Linked DNA regions of Homo sapiens: all the other regions are linked to region 3. Evidence: promoter capture Hi-C in 16 types of primary human blood cells and fetal thymus (Javierre and others, 2016). All regions are on one chromosome and are shown on one strand. Each heading gives the region's core, a stretch centred on a gene start or on the middle of the fragment in contact. The rest is flanking DNA. Distances are from core to core; before and after follow the strand shown. Region 1 holds the start of CCDC191 (coiled-coil domain containing 191). Region 2 overlaps GTPBP8 (GTP binding protein 8). Region 3 holds the start of SPICE1 (spindle and centriole associated protein 1). Region 4 overlaps ATG3 (autophagy related 3).

Evidence for each region. The method cuts DNA at HindIII sites, captures the fragments that hold promoters and counts their contacts. A CHiCAGO score of 5 or more calls a contact.
Region 1: a contact is called between the fragment with the promoter of CCDC191 here and the fragment with the promoter of SPICE1 in region 3, in 1 of 17 cell types (non-activated CD4 T cells). The highest score is 5.3, in non-activated CD4 T cells.
Region 2: a fragment that was not itself captured here is called in contact with the fragment with the promoter of SPICE1 in region 3 in 1 of 17 cell types (fetal thymus); the score reaches 5.8 in fetal thymus.
Region 4: a contact is called between a fragment that was not itself captured here and the fragment with the promoter of SPICE1 in region 3, in 1 of 17 cell types (fetal thymus). The highest score is 6.1, in fetal thymus.

The regions. Positions count from the first base shown.
Region 1 is chr3:114,055,230-114,057,972 of GRCh38, forward strand. It overlaps CCDC191 (coiled-coil domain containing 191), which reads right to left and starts at 1,297. Exons shown (of 17, transcript NM_020817.2): 1 at 1,148-1,297. The coding sequence starts at 1,237. It overlaps QTRT2 (queuine tRNA-ribosyltransferase accessory subunit 2), which reads left to right and starts at 1,508. Exons shown (of 10, transcript NM_024638.4): 1 at 1,508-1,635; 2 at 1,770-1,877. RefSeq lists an enhancer at 1,039-1,448. The HindIII fragment of the contact is 7,070 bases long and covers 402-2,743 here.
Region 2 is chr3:112,991,215-112,993,914 of GRCh38, forward strand. It overlaps GTPBP8 (GTP binding protein 8), which reads left to right. Exons shown (of 6, transcript NM_014170.4): 1 at 1-121; 2 at 1,812-1,910. Among named protein-coding and RNA genes, the nearest start is that of GTPBP8, 1.6 kb to the left of the region's middle. RefSeq lists an enhancer at 1-27. The HindIII fragment of the contact is 160 bases long and covers 1,292-1,451 here.
Region 3 is chr3:113,513,640-113,516,567 of GRCh38, forward strand. It overlaps SPICE1 (spindle and centriole associated protein 1), which reads right to left and starts at 1,517. Exons shown (of 18, transcript NM_144718.4): 1 at 1,258-1,517. SPICE1-CFAP44 (SPICE1-CFAP44 readthrough (NMD candidate)) reads right to left here and starts at 1,517. Exons shown (of 52, transcript NR_183050.1): 1 at 1,258-1,517. RefSeq lists enhancers at 1,204-1,323, 1,384-1,433, 2,140-2,189, 2,700-2,749, 2,810-2,859. The HindIII fragment of the contact is 3,693 bases long and covers 373-2,928 here.
Region 4 is chr3:112,557,722-112,560,642 of GRCh38, forward strand. It overlaps ATG3 (autophagy related 3), which reads right to left. Exons shown (of 12, transcript NM_022488.5): 2 at 655-696. Among named protein-coding and RNA genes, the nearest start is that of ATG3, 2.8 kb to the right of the region's middle. The HindIII fragment of the contact is 2,731 bases long and covers 113-2,843 here.

The sequences.
Region 1 (2,743 bases), core at 47-2,546, 540 kb after region 3:
TTACCTTTTTTTCTCTAGGCAGTAATAATGAGCACTAGCAGCAAAAATCCTTCCTTTTGGAGTCCTAAGAAATTATTCTAAATTTTTACCTTTCATCATCAAGTCCATATCTATATCCTATCTTGGATCCAATACATTATGCAACTGATGTATTGAAATAGCAGCAGCCTCAGTTTCCAAGTCTCCCTGATGCTTCAGTCTGTGCCCTCTAGTATCTAGGGCAACATATTTGTCATGTGGAATATGTCCAATGCATTTAGCTGGTAAATTTAGAATAAATCGCAAGAACAATCGCCTGGGGCCCTCAAAAAGGCCACATACATCTACAGAATATTATTTAGGAAAGTATAACTTAAGGGTGAAAACAGCTGGTGAAACTGCTCTGTAGCTGAAAGCTGAGAAGCTTCTCCATTTTAGTACTCTCATTTAGATTTTAAGCATCTTTTTGGGGACTGTTAAAAAGGTAGTCTGTGGAAAGCACACGGTGCAACTGTGACTTTGCACATGTCACATATGTTTCAAGTTTAAAATGGGGTTATTATTTTTTTCTTATCTTCAGGTGCTAATGCATCCAAATGGGTGATAGATACGGAGAGAATCTATTTTTTGAAAGTTGGTTGAATTTAGAAATTACTATGTGAATCAAGTATTAATGTATTCAATATCCATTTGCACTCCTGAGTTTATTTAGATACTTTACGTAAAAGTGAAGGGGCAGGAATATAGGCAGGGTATTTAATGTGAAGCTCTCTCCCGTTAATAAAGATCAATTACCCCAAGATTTGCAAAAAAAAAAAAAGAGAGAGAAAAAGAAAGAAATGTGCGAGAAGTTTCCTAAAATTTAAGGTAGGGGGAACGGAGTTTGCAAACTCCTTTCACCCCGATGGGCATTAGCAGACACCTCCGGTTTTAGAAAAGCGTTACAAACAGTTCTTCCACGATGCTGCCCACCAAAGCCGTAATGTGCCCAGACCCCAGAGCTCCTAGAGCATTTCACTCAGGGTAATGCTGGCTTTGGGGCGGTCAAGGCAGGGGCGTGTCAGCTCAGGATGAAGAGGCAGGAAGCACAGACGGGCCGCGACTGGCTTCCTGACTGCGCCGCGCCTTGGGAAAGTCCCCGCCCTCCAAAGCTCTCGATTGGGATCACCTTGGGACTCGGCTTCCTTGTGAACCGTTTCCAGCGATTCAGCCCCATCCTTTTCTTTGAGAAGGACCTTCCCTGAGGCGCCAGGAGCATTTTCCAAGTTCGAGCCCGAACCTCGGCCAAAGCTGCAGCAACCGCCCTTCTGCCCGGGCTGCCTCCGGGTCACGCTGGGAATTGTAGTTCCTCCGCCCGCAAGGAAAGCAGGCATAGGACACCGTCGAACCACCACTCCCACGAGGCTCTGCGCAGGCCGCTCGCGTTGGCTCAGTTACCATAGCAACGGCAGAGGTCCCTCGCTCTTGCCGTCATCAAGGCTCGCTTGAATGTCGGCTTTGCTTTTTTTCTGGCGCCCAGTGATGACGCAGTACTCCCTGATTGGCTCTGCACTGGAGGCAGTGATTTTGGGGCAGAGAATTTTGCAACACGTGGTAGTGAACTGTGAGGAGTTTGAGGGGTCTGAAGACTGAAAGAGTCGAATGGTTTGTTGGCAGGTAAGTGCCCCTTTGCCCTGCTGGTGTGGGAGCTGCTAGAGATGGATGAGTCACGTCGCGTCCAGACGCTTCCTGGTTGTGTTGCAGTAACGGTGATTGTACTCCCGCCATGTCTCCTCTGCTTCCCTTTTCAGGGTGTCCTGGTGGATTGGTTTCTGTAAGTTCAGATTCTCATAAATCGTGTGAGCGTCGCCGACACCTCTGAGATAAAAGGGCCCCTTTCGACTAGCCTCTGCTGAAAGGTAGAGTTTTCAGGAAGTTTTTATTCCGAACTGCCCATGGGAGGGTGGGACCGTCTTCAATCTCTGAGCCAGGTGCCTAGGGAGGTCTGGGGCCATGGAGATGGCCCATGGAGCAAAGATAAATCCAGGCTTATTGGCTTAGCCGAGGTGTTTCCAGAGACAGCCCATTTAGGGGTGATAAATGGGCTTATAAAGCAGAGTAAAGATTTAGAACAGGAGTTTTGAATTCAACTACTTTGTGGCTATATGACCCTAGGCAACTTGTTTAATAACTCAGAGACCCTGTTTTCTCATGCAAAATGGGGACGATAATACCTGAATCACTGGAGTGTTGTAATGATTAAAAATAAATGTATGTGAAGCATTCTGCCAGGAAATGTAAACTAAAGTTGATTTGAAATTGGTGAAAATGAAGTTAGGGAAGCTATGCCCTCGGACTGTTGCAGCGATCCTAGGACCAGCTCTGTAACTGGTCTGTCTGAAAGGCGGTTGAATAAATTGTGCTCATACAAACTATGCAGTACCACGAAGTAGTTTTTTTCAAAAGGGTAAGTTAGCTTTATGTCTCTTCTTCAGGAAAGACGTCTAATGTTTATTCTTGAGAGAAAAGCAAATTGCAGAGAAGTGCATATATTATAGTATAATATGTTTCCATTTTTGTAAAAGCAAACCCTGACCAAAACACTCCCTCCCATATGCAAGTATGTTTAAATATTTGTATGAGAATGGAGAAAGATTGCAGAGACTGGGAGGATGGATTAGAGGCGGGAGGGAGAAAGGGAAAAGAAGAAGAACACTATAGCAAAATGGAAACTAAGATTATAATGTGCTTGTGTACCAGATGGAACTTCTAATAAGCTCCCAGC
Region 2 (2,700 bases), core at 122-2,621, 520 kb before region 3:
CCCAAGCCCGGAGGACATAGCCAGGGCGGACAACATCTTCACGGCCACTGAACGGAACCGCATCGACTACGTCAGCTCCGCCGTCCGTATCGACCACGCCCCGGACCTTCCGCGGCCAGAGGTGAGAGGCGATTCTCACGGTTCACCTGCGCGCCGGCGTCACAGCGCTAACCGCTTCCCTGGCCGTCCGGCTCGCGGGTGATTTTGCGGTTGTATTTTCTAGCTTTATGTTGGCGCATATATTATTTTAACTCAATAGGCATATGTCGATGCTCCCTGTACGTGGGGATACCCGAGAAACCCATTGTTAAGTACAAAATGCAGTCAATACCCATAAACCCATGGTAAAGTCAAAAATCGTTAAGTCGACCCACTGTAAGCAGAGACTGCCTGTATACAGCTTAAATTATTTTGGAATGAATATAGAAGACTTCAAAATGCTTTAAAAGCTTTTCAAACCCAAATTAAGCATTCAAAAAATTAACTCTCCTTTTTTCTTCTATTTAACTTAAGTAGGGAAAACATGCCAGACAAATTAGACAGAATTTAGACAGTGAAGAATAGGAAACGAATAATAGTTTCACAAATGAGATGGTCCTTATCAATAAGTAACTTTCGCCTAATCTAAATTTCCTATCGTGCAAAAATAATAATCTCTAGATGGCAATAATGTGGAAAAATTTTTATAACAACGTTTATTAGTGAAATTTCATGAGTGAGCATTCTTGCATGTCCTACAATTTATTGATATTCTGTTCTAAGTCTGCTAAAAGGCATCTCAACTCTCCATATGTATTTACACTAAGTGCACCATTGCCCAGAGATATTTCGTCTAAATATATGTGGAACTATAGTCAGGATTCAAAGAGTACCTCAATTATTTAATGATTTTGAGACAGCCATTGCTTTTTTATTTAAGCTTCTAAATTACTGGACTTTTTTGTAATTCGTTTTTAAAATTCAGTTTTATCTACATATTAGCATTAGATTTGCTCTGGCAGAGCATTTAAAATTTTTGCAGGACTCAGATCAATTAATTTTGAAGAACTGACCAGAATTTTCCAGGATAGGATCCCTGGCCCCTGCCCACTAAATGTCCCCCAATTGTCTTGATAACCAAAAATGCCCTTAAAATCTCCAAAATGTCCCTCAAGGGGCAGTACGGCCGTCATTTAGAACAACTGATTGGCATTGTACCCCCTCCCCCAATACCATGTTCAAAAGCAGAGCCATGTGTATTAATGGTTATTATCGAGAATATTCTGTTGTTTTCCACACTACAGAGGAGACAAGCTTAATTGGAACAAGAGAGGTCAAGGGAAAAGAGTAAGTTTTTAAATTGCAGTGGTGTTACAGTATACCATGGGAGTGCTTGAGAAAATGTGCTTCCAAACATGTAGTTGTACTTTTCATCTAGTTCTGTTGAACTACATCTAGTTTTTACTCTAAAAAGCTTTGTAAATATGAAATGCTTAATAAAAGTTGCATATATTCTTGAGTAGCGTAGTGAAACTAAAAGCACAGATTCTAGATATACATGTCCTGAGTTCAAATCCCAACTCCTTCACTTTCTAGCTGTATAATTTTGGGTTAGTTGTGTTCTCTCATCCGTAAAATGGGGATAATATCACCTACCTCCTAGATGCTGTAAAAAATGAATAAGAAAATATATGCTGAATGCTTAAAATAGTACCTGGCACATTTAATTCATTCAATAAATATTAGCTGTGTTAGAATTTGAAGTTTTTTACATCTAATGCAGAATAGCATATACAGCTAGTACGTACTTATCTTGTTTTTTCTTGTATAAGGTGTGTTTTATAGGCAGAAGCAATGTTGGAAAATCATCTCTAATCAAGGCTTTATTTTCACTGGCCCCTGAGGTTGAAGTCAGAGTCTCCAAAAAACCAGTATGTTGAAGTTTTTAAATATGTTTGGACTATCTCTTGGATTAACTAACATGAATAATAAATGCTGGAAGGTATAAGAAATCATAATTACTAAGTTCCTAGAGAAGTGATTTCTTTCAAAAAAGTAATAAAGTAAGACATCCTAATGCCTGTGTATTCCTCTGAAGAAAAGGAAGTGTAGCTGGATTTATTTTAGTAGTCTAGACAATATCTTCAGAAAGTCTTTCTTTATCCAAATTTTGCAGAGTTGCCAAATAAAGTGTCTTATTGTCATTCTATATTTCCTCCTATAACAGTGATCATCTAGTTCTACACTGATTGTACGGTAAATGGCTTTTAGGTTTTTCTTGCTTTTTTCCTCCTATAATCTTTTTTAAGGTATAAAGTACGTGATTAGTTACACACACACATTCGGCATATTCTTATGTGCTTGTTTTCCTAGCCAGTCTGCTGTAATAGCTTTCTTTCATTTTCTAATTCCCTCTACTTTCTTCTCAACGACGCAGTCTCTGCCAATATCTAAGATACCCTTTCTTCAAAATCACCCCCACTTTGTCTCACCATATCTGGCCATGGTAAACCTTTCCACCAACCCTAATGTTCACTATCCCTGTGTATGTGCGTGCACGAACGCACACACACCCCTTTCATTGAGTTGGAACCCTTCCATGAGACTTCACTAGGTCTTTTCTTGCTCCTCACTTCATAAAATGATTCTCTGGCTCCATCGCTAATGATTCTTCCCATTACTTAACCCTCCCATCCTTACTCCTGCCCCGCCTCACCAAAT
Region 3 (2,928 bases), core at 267-2,766:
CCTCTGTTCCTTATCTCTTAGTGAATCAGATAACAGAATCTATTAACTTTTTCCCTAAAAATCTCTCTTGCCCGCTCTTCTCCATCTCTACTAAAAATATTTTTGTTCAGGCTCTCATTATTCTAATTAGTCTCCCTTTCACTCTTCACTCACTGACTTCATCATCCATCTATTAATGTAACTAATATTTTGAAGCACCATCTAAAAGCGAGGCACCAGATATAACAAGAAAGTAGAATAGTCTATGCCCTTGCAGAGTTAAGAGTTTCTAAGAGGACCGCAATTAAACAAGTATTTACAACAAAAGGGCAGCATGGGAAGTAAATTCTGTGTGCCATGAAAGTACCTAACTAACTCTATGCAGTAAGTAAAAGCTTCTCCTCTCTGTAATACCCCCAAAAATGTTTGCACTGAGAGCTAAAATACGAATAAAAGTTAGAAGCAGGGGAAAGAATATTCCAGGCAAGGGAAAATGCATTTACGAAGAGTTTGAGAAGTTCAGTTCAATTAACAAAGATCTGAGAGGGTGAGAGGTTAAAGGAAGAAAGGCAGACAGCAGATTGTAGTCTTGTGAGCCACAGCAATCTGAACACCTAAGACCATAGGAAACCACTGAAGAATTTTAAAAGGGATAGTTATGACTGGACTTAGTAAATCCACTCTGACTGGTGTGGAAAACTGATCAAAGAGAAACAAGAACTCTTTCCAAACACTGTTGAATCAATCCTACCTAAATACATGGATAGAGAATAGATCTGAACCCTTTACCTACTTCCTCTAGATTCGGATGGCTCCCCACTGTCAAAAGCAATCCAACTCAGCTTGGCATTCAGACCCTCTCCCCCATATGGCCCGGCTGACTTTTCTTTCCAGTGTTCTCTCACATCTCCCGCAAATCCTAAAACCAAGCTCTCGCCTCACACACAGTTGCAACCATTCTTTTCCCTCTGCTTGGAACACTCATTAGGCTCACTCTCTTCTCTACTGGGTTAACTTCCACGGACTCCTCAAAACTCACAGGAGGAGCCTTCTGAGAAGCCCCTCTGACATCCATCGATTTAAATGACGCTCCCGGTCCCAAAGCACCCTGGATAGTTTGCCTCTCTCCTGCTACACGGTGAACTCCCCCAACGCTACAATCGAGCACCCCCAATTACCAGCTCTGTGCAAAAGCTCCCGAAAGCGGTGCGCACGCGCATACTCGAGGTGCTCTGGCGCCACGCACAAACATACCCAGACACGCACCCTGACACGTACTTGCACTCTCAAAACACAGAGCCGCGGCTGCGCTTCCTGAAGTAAGGATTCCCCAACCGGGCGCCTGGATCCCAGGCAACAGACAGATGCCACCACCGTTCTCCCCACCCTTTTGGTAGCCCTGGTCCCTAAGGCTCGTTGGGACTGCGAGCTGCAAGCCTCAGATCCATCATCTCAACCTGCCTTGCAGTCGGTCCCGACTGCCGCCGCCACCGCAGCTAAAACTTCAGGCGCCGGAACCGCGGAGCGCGCCACAGGTTAACCCAGCCAGCGGCTTCCGGGCTGTTGCCTGGGTTACCAGAGCTCCGCCCCACGCCCTTGCGTATATCCGGCGAGCCCAGTGCGCAGGCGCCTCCCAAAGCCTATCTCGGGTCCTGAGTCTAAGGGAGAGAGGTTCCTCTGCAAGGTTCAGGGCAAATTATTAAAGAATAGGTATATAGCAGGCCGGGCGCGGTGGCTGACGCCTGTAATCCCAGCACTTTGGGAGGCCGAGGCAGGCGGATCACGAGGTCAGGAGATCGAGACCATCCTGGCTAACACGGTGAAACCCCGTCTCTACTAAAAATACAAAAAATTACCCGGGCCAGGTGGCGGGCGCCTGTAGTCCCAGCTACTCGGGAGGCTGAGGCAGGAGAATGGCGTGAACCTGGGAGGTGGAGGTTGCAGTGAGCCGACATGGCGCCACTGCAGTCCGGCCTGGGCGAAAGAGCGAGACTCCGTCTCAAAAAAAAAAAAAAAAAAAAAAGAATAGGCATATAGCATTAGCCGGTGCCTCGAGAATTCTCCAAAAGAAAGATGTTGCTCTCCTCACCAGACTTCACATATCACTTAATTTGCTTTCATCTCTATTCATTTGTTTACAAATCTTTAGTAGTGGAATCCCAGCACTTTTGGAGACAGAAGCAGAAGGATTGCTTAAGCTCAGGAGTTTGAGACAAGCATGGGCAAGATGGCGAAACCCCGTCTCTACGAAAAATTAAAAAATTAGCTGGGCGTGGGAACACGCCTGTAGTTCCAGCTACTCAGGAAGCTGAGGTGCGAGGATCGCTTGAGCCAAGGAGGGCAAAGCTGTAGTGAGCCACAGTCATACCACTTCACTCCAGCCTGGACGACAAAGCAAGACCTTGTCTCAAAAAAAAAAAAAAAAGTTGTTTATTACAACCTACAAATGTGCGGGAGAGCTAGGTTCTATGGGGCTAAAAACAGGCAAGGTGGGAAACTTACAGCATATTAACAGACAGTTATCAATGACAAAAACATTAAAATTATGACGAGTGCTAAGAAGGAAGCACTCTAACCAAATACTTAGCTTATTATTATAGTAATATTTGAATTACTCAGGAAAGCTCAGACATGAATAGGCCAGTGGGGAAGGGGAAAGCATTCCTGCAGAGGGAGCTGCATGTGCAAAGATGTGGAAAATGCAAGGGACAGGAAGAGGTCCAGTGTGTCTGAAGTTTAGAGAACAGTGGGAACTTGCTGTGAAGGGGAGGCGCCCTGATAGGCTGGATCCACGACAGTCAGAGCTGCGTGGACCACGTTAAGAACTTTACAAAGCACTTGATTCAAAAACAGAGTTTATTTGCTCTGGTAAGACAATTTCCTCTAGCCCCTTGCTTTCTGCTGTTACAATACACCCATGTGTGGTCTGCAAATACATGCCCAAAACCT
Region 4 (2,921 bases), core at 228-2,727, 960 kb before region 3:
TAACAGCAGCAGCCTTATCATAAAATAAGGCTTAAAACGTTTGTTTCAAAACAGTGAATAAAGTTCTATTGCCAAAAAGTGGTGTTTTCATTGGCAGAAAAAAAAAAATTCAAGCTTAAATAAATTGTCTCTTATTAAGAACAACCTAAGTCTGATAAAACCATAATTATTCATAAAATTGGAGCCTGAAAAGGTTTTTAGCCCAGTATTTACTTCTCCACCGACAACGAAATAGAACTCTTAAGAGAAAACAATATCTAAGTAGTAAGCAAAGTTTTCCAATGAAAAGCATGAAAACTCACATTTGATGTAAACAGAACCAAGACACCACAGACATTACAGAGCTTACTGCACAGCTCAATATAACACCAATACAAGTCAAGGATAAGTGACATAGGACTCATTTTGATCCCTTCTTTCACCCTCATTTCTAAATAAAGAGGAACTACAGAGAAATATGAGAAGTGGCAAACTGACGGGGAAGTTACATCTTTTCTTCTATGGGAAGTAGAAATTCCCATAAATCACAGTCATAAAACCTAATTTTACTCAAATCAAAATTAAAGTTCAAGATGTTTTCTTATGAAGCAGAAAAGCCACCTAGTTTAGTATTATTGTAAAATAAAAAGACTTCAGTATATCTTCAGCACTCACCTCTTCTGGGGTAATTACACCTGTTTCCTTAAACTTTGATTCCTAAAAAAAGCAGAAAGAAAAACAATATTATATCATGTTTCACTATCAATTAAATATATTTTGGGGGCAATTATTTGCCTGGTGCCCTTCTAGGCAATAGAGCACATACAAAAAAAAATTAGTCTATCTATCTAATCTATAATCTATCTAATCTACCTATCTACCTACCTCATTGGTATCTATCTATATCTATCTATCTGTTTCACTCACTGGTAATGACCACAGGAATATACAAGTCTAATGTAGGAAACAGACATGAAAATAATTATAATACTATCAGATCAGTGCTATAATAGAGTAAAGCTCTATGTAGAAACATTCTTTTTTTTTTTTTTTAAGATGGAGTTTCACTCCTGTTGCCCAGGCTGGAGTGCAGTGGCGCCATCTTGGCTCACGGCAACCTCCACCTCCCGGGTTCAAGCGATTCTCCTGCCTCAGCCTCCTGCCTGTAGCTGGGATTACAGGCATGTGCCACCATGCCCGGCTAATTTTTGCATTTTTAGTAGAGACAGGGTTTCTCCATGTTTGTCAGGCTGGTCTCGAACTCCTGACCTCAGGTGATCCACCCGCCTCGGCCTCCCAATGTGCTGGGATTACAGGCGTGAGCCACTGCGCCCGGCCAAGCTCTATGTACAAACATTCTAAGATTTAAATAAAAATAAAGCCTTACAGTGATTCTGTGAAATGAACAAATACCTTTATTTTACAGCACAGCAAAAATGTCTTAAAGATGTTTAGACATCTTACAATTCAGCCAGTCTTATTTAAACTGAATAATGTTAGAAACCAAATCTAGAAATTATTTAGCATTTTCCTCTAATTCTCATCTCCACCAAGATACTGACACACTATTCTCTAAATTTTTCTAAACTTTAAGTTATATGTAAGATTTTCTGGTAGAGTCTACAAAAATGAAAACACTCATTTATAAACATTATTCATTCAACAAATGTTTACTATGTGCCAGACACTATTTGAGGCAGTGGGGATATTTGGGGGTGAATAACATAAATACAAATTTATTCTTGCCCTCATAAGGAGTTTCAACTCCAGTTGAGGAAGAAAAGCCAAATGGTAATGAATAACATACCATAAAGAAAAATGAAGCTGAGAGGAATCTGTGGGGTGGCTGGGGAGAGATGGCCATTTAAAATAGAATGGTAAGAGAACAAAGACTTCACTGAATAATGACTTAAAAACCTTAAGGAAAGGAACATGCCATAAGGCTGTTAAGTGCGAAGCGCGTTTCAGATAGAGGGAAGAGCACATGCAAAACCCCAAACCAAGAGTGTGCTTAACAGAATAATAAAGAGATCAGGTTAGCTTAAGCAACAGCAGTCAGGGGATGGAGCAGATGAGATTGGGGCCTCTACCAATTAAGCAGAACCTTAGAGATGATTGTAAGAACTTCAGTGTTTACTGCATGTACATACTCCAAACAAAACATGATTTTTCTTAATTTTTACTTGCTAGGAGAAGGCTATTACTTATTTCCTGAGGATTTTGTTCTTTCTCCTTGCCCTCCCTAAGCAGGAAACTGTAAGGATTCTCTCTGTAAACAACAGTTTGCACAGGAGTATCAAGGAGACGGTCATTCATTCTTTCCTTTTTACTAAAGACATATACCATACATACTGACATGCCAACAGTTCCTTTTCAGTTTGGTGAGCAAGTATGATGGACTCCTGAAAACATAATTCTACATCATACATTTTATATTTCATTTGGGCAGTCTCTTGCTCCTCTCTCCCGGAAACTAAAAAGTTGTACAATGGTGTATTATTAAAATACTGTATACCTAGGTAGATATGATATTCTGAAAAGTTAACATAATTATGTAAAAGCATTTGATTCAAATGTGAAAATTATTTTCCAATCTTAGTTTGACTGAATAATCTTAAAATGACTTTCACAGTAAACAAATGTAAGCAAAGCAACAGTTGAAATTCTCATTTATAATCGCTGGTTTATTTCTTACTTGGCCAATAAGTTATTCTTTTAAAAGGAGCTTTACAAAAACGTATTTTAAAAAGTATAGACCTAGTACTTCCCTTTGTCATGGAAAGGGAGCAAAGCAAAACTCTCCACTATTCTTAGCATATTAAGGTATTTCACCCCCACACTGAGATTGGTACATTCTAACTGAAAGCTTAAAAACAACTAGAAAAAAAAAACAAAAACTAAGCAAGAACTTCCCATTAATTTACTATTCTTGCTCACTTTTC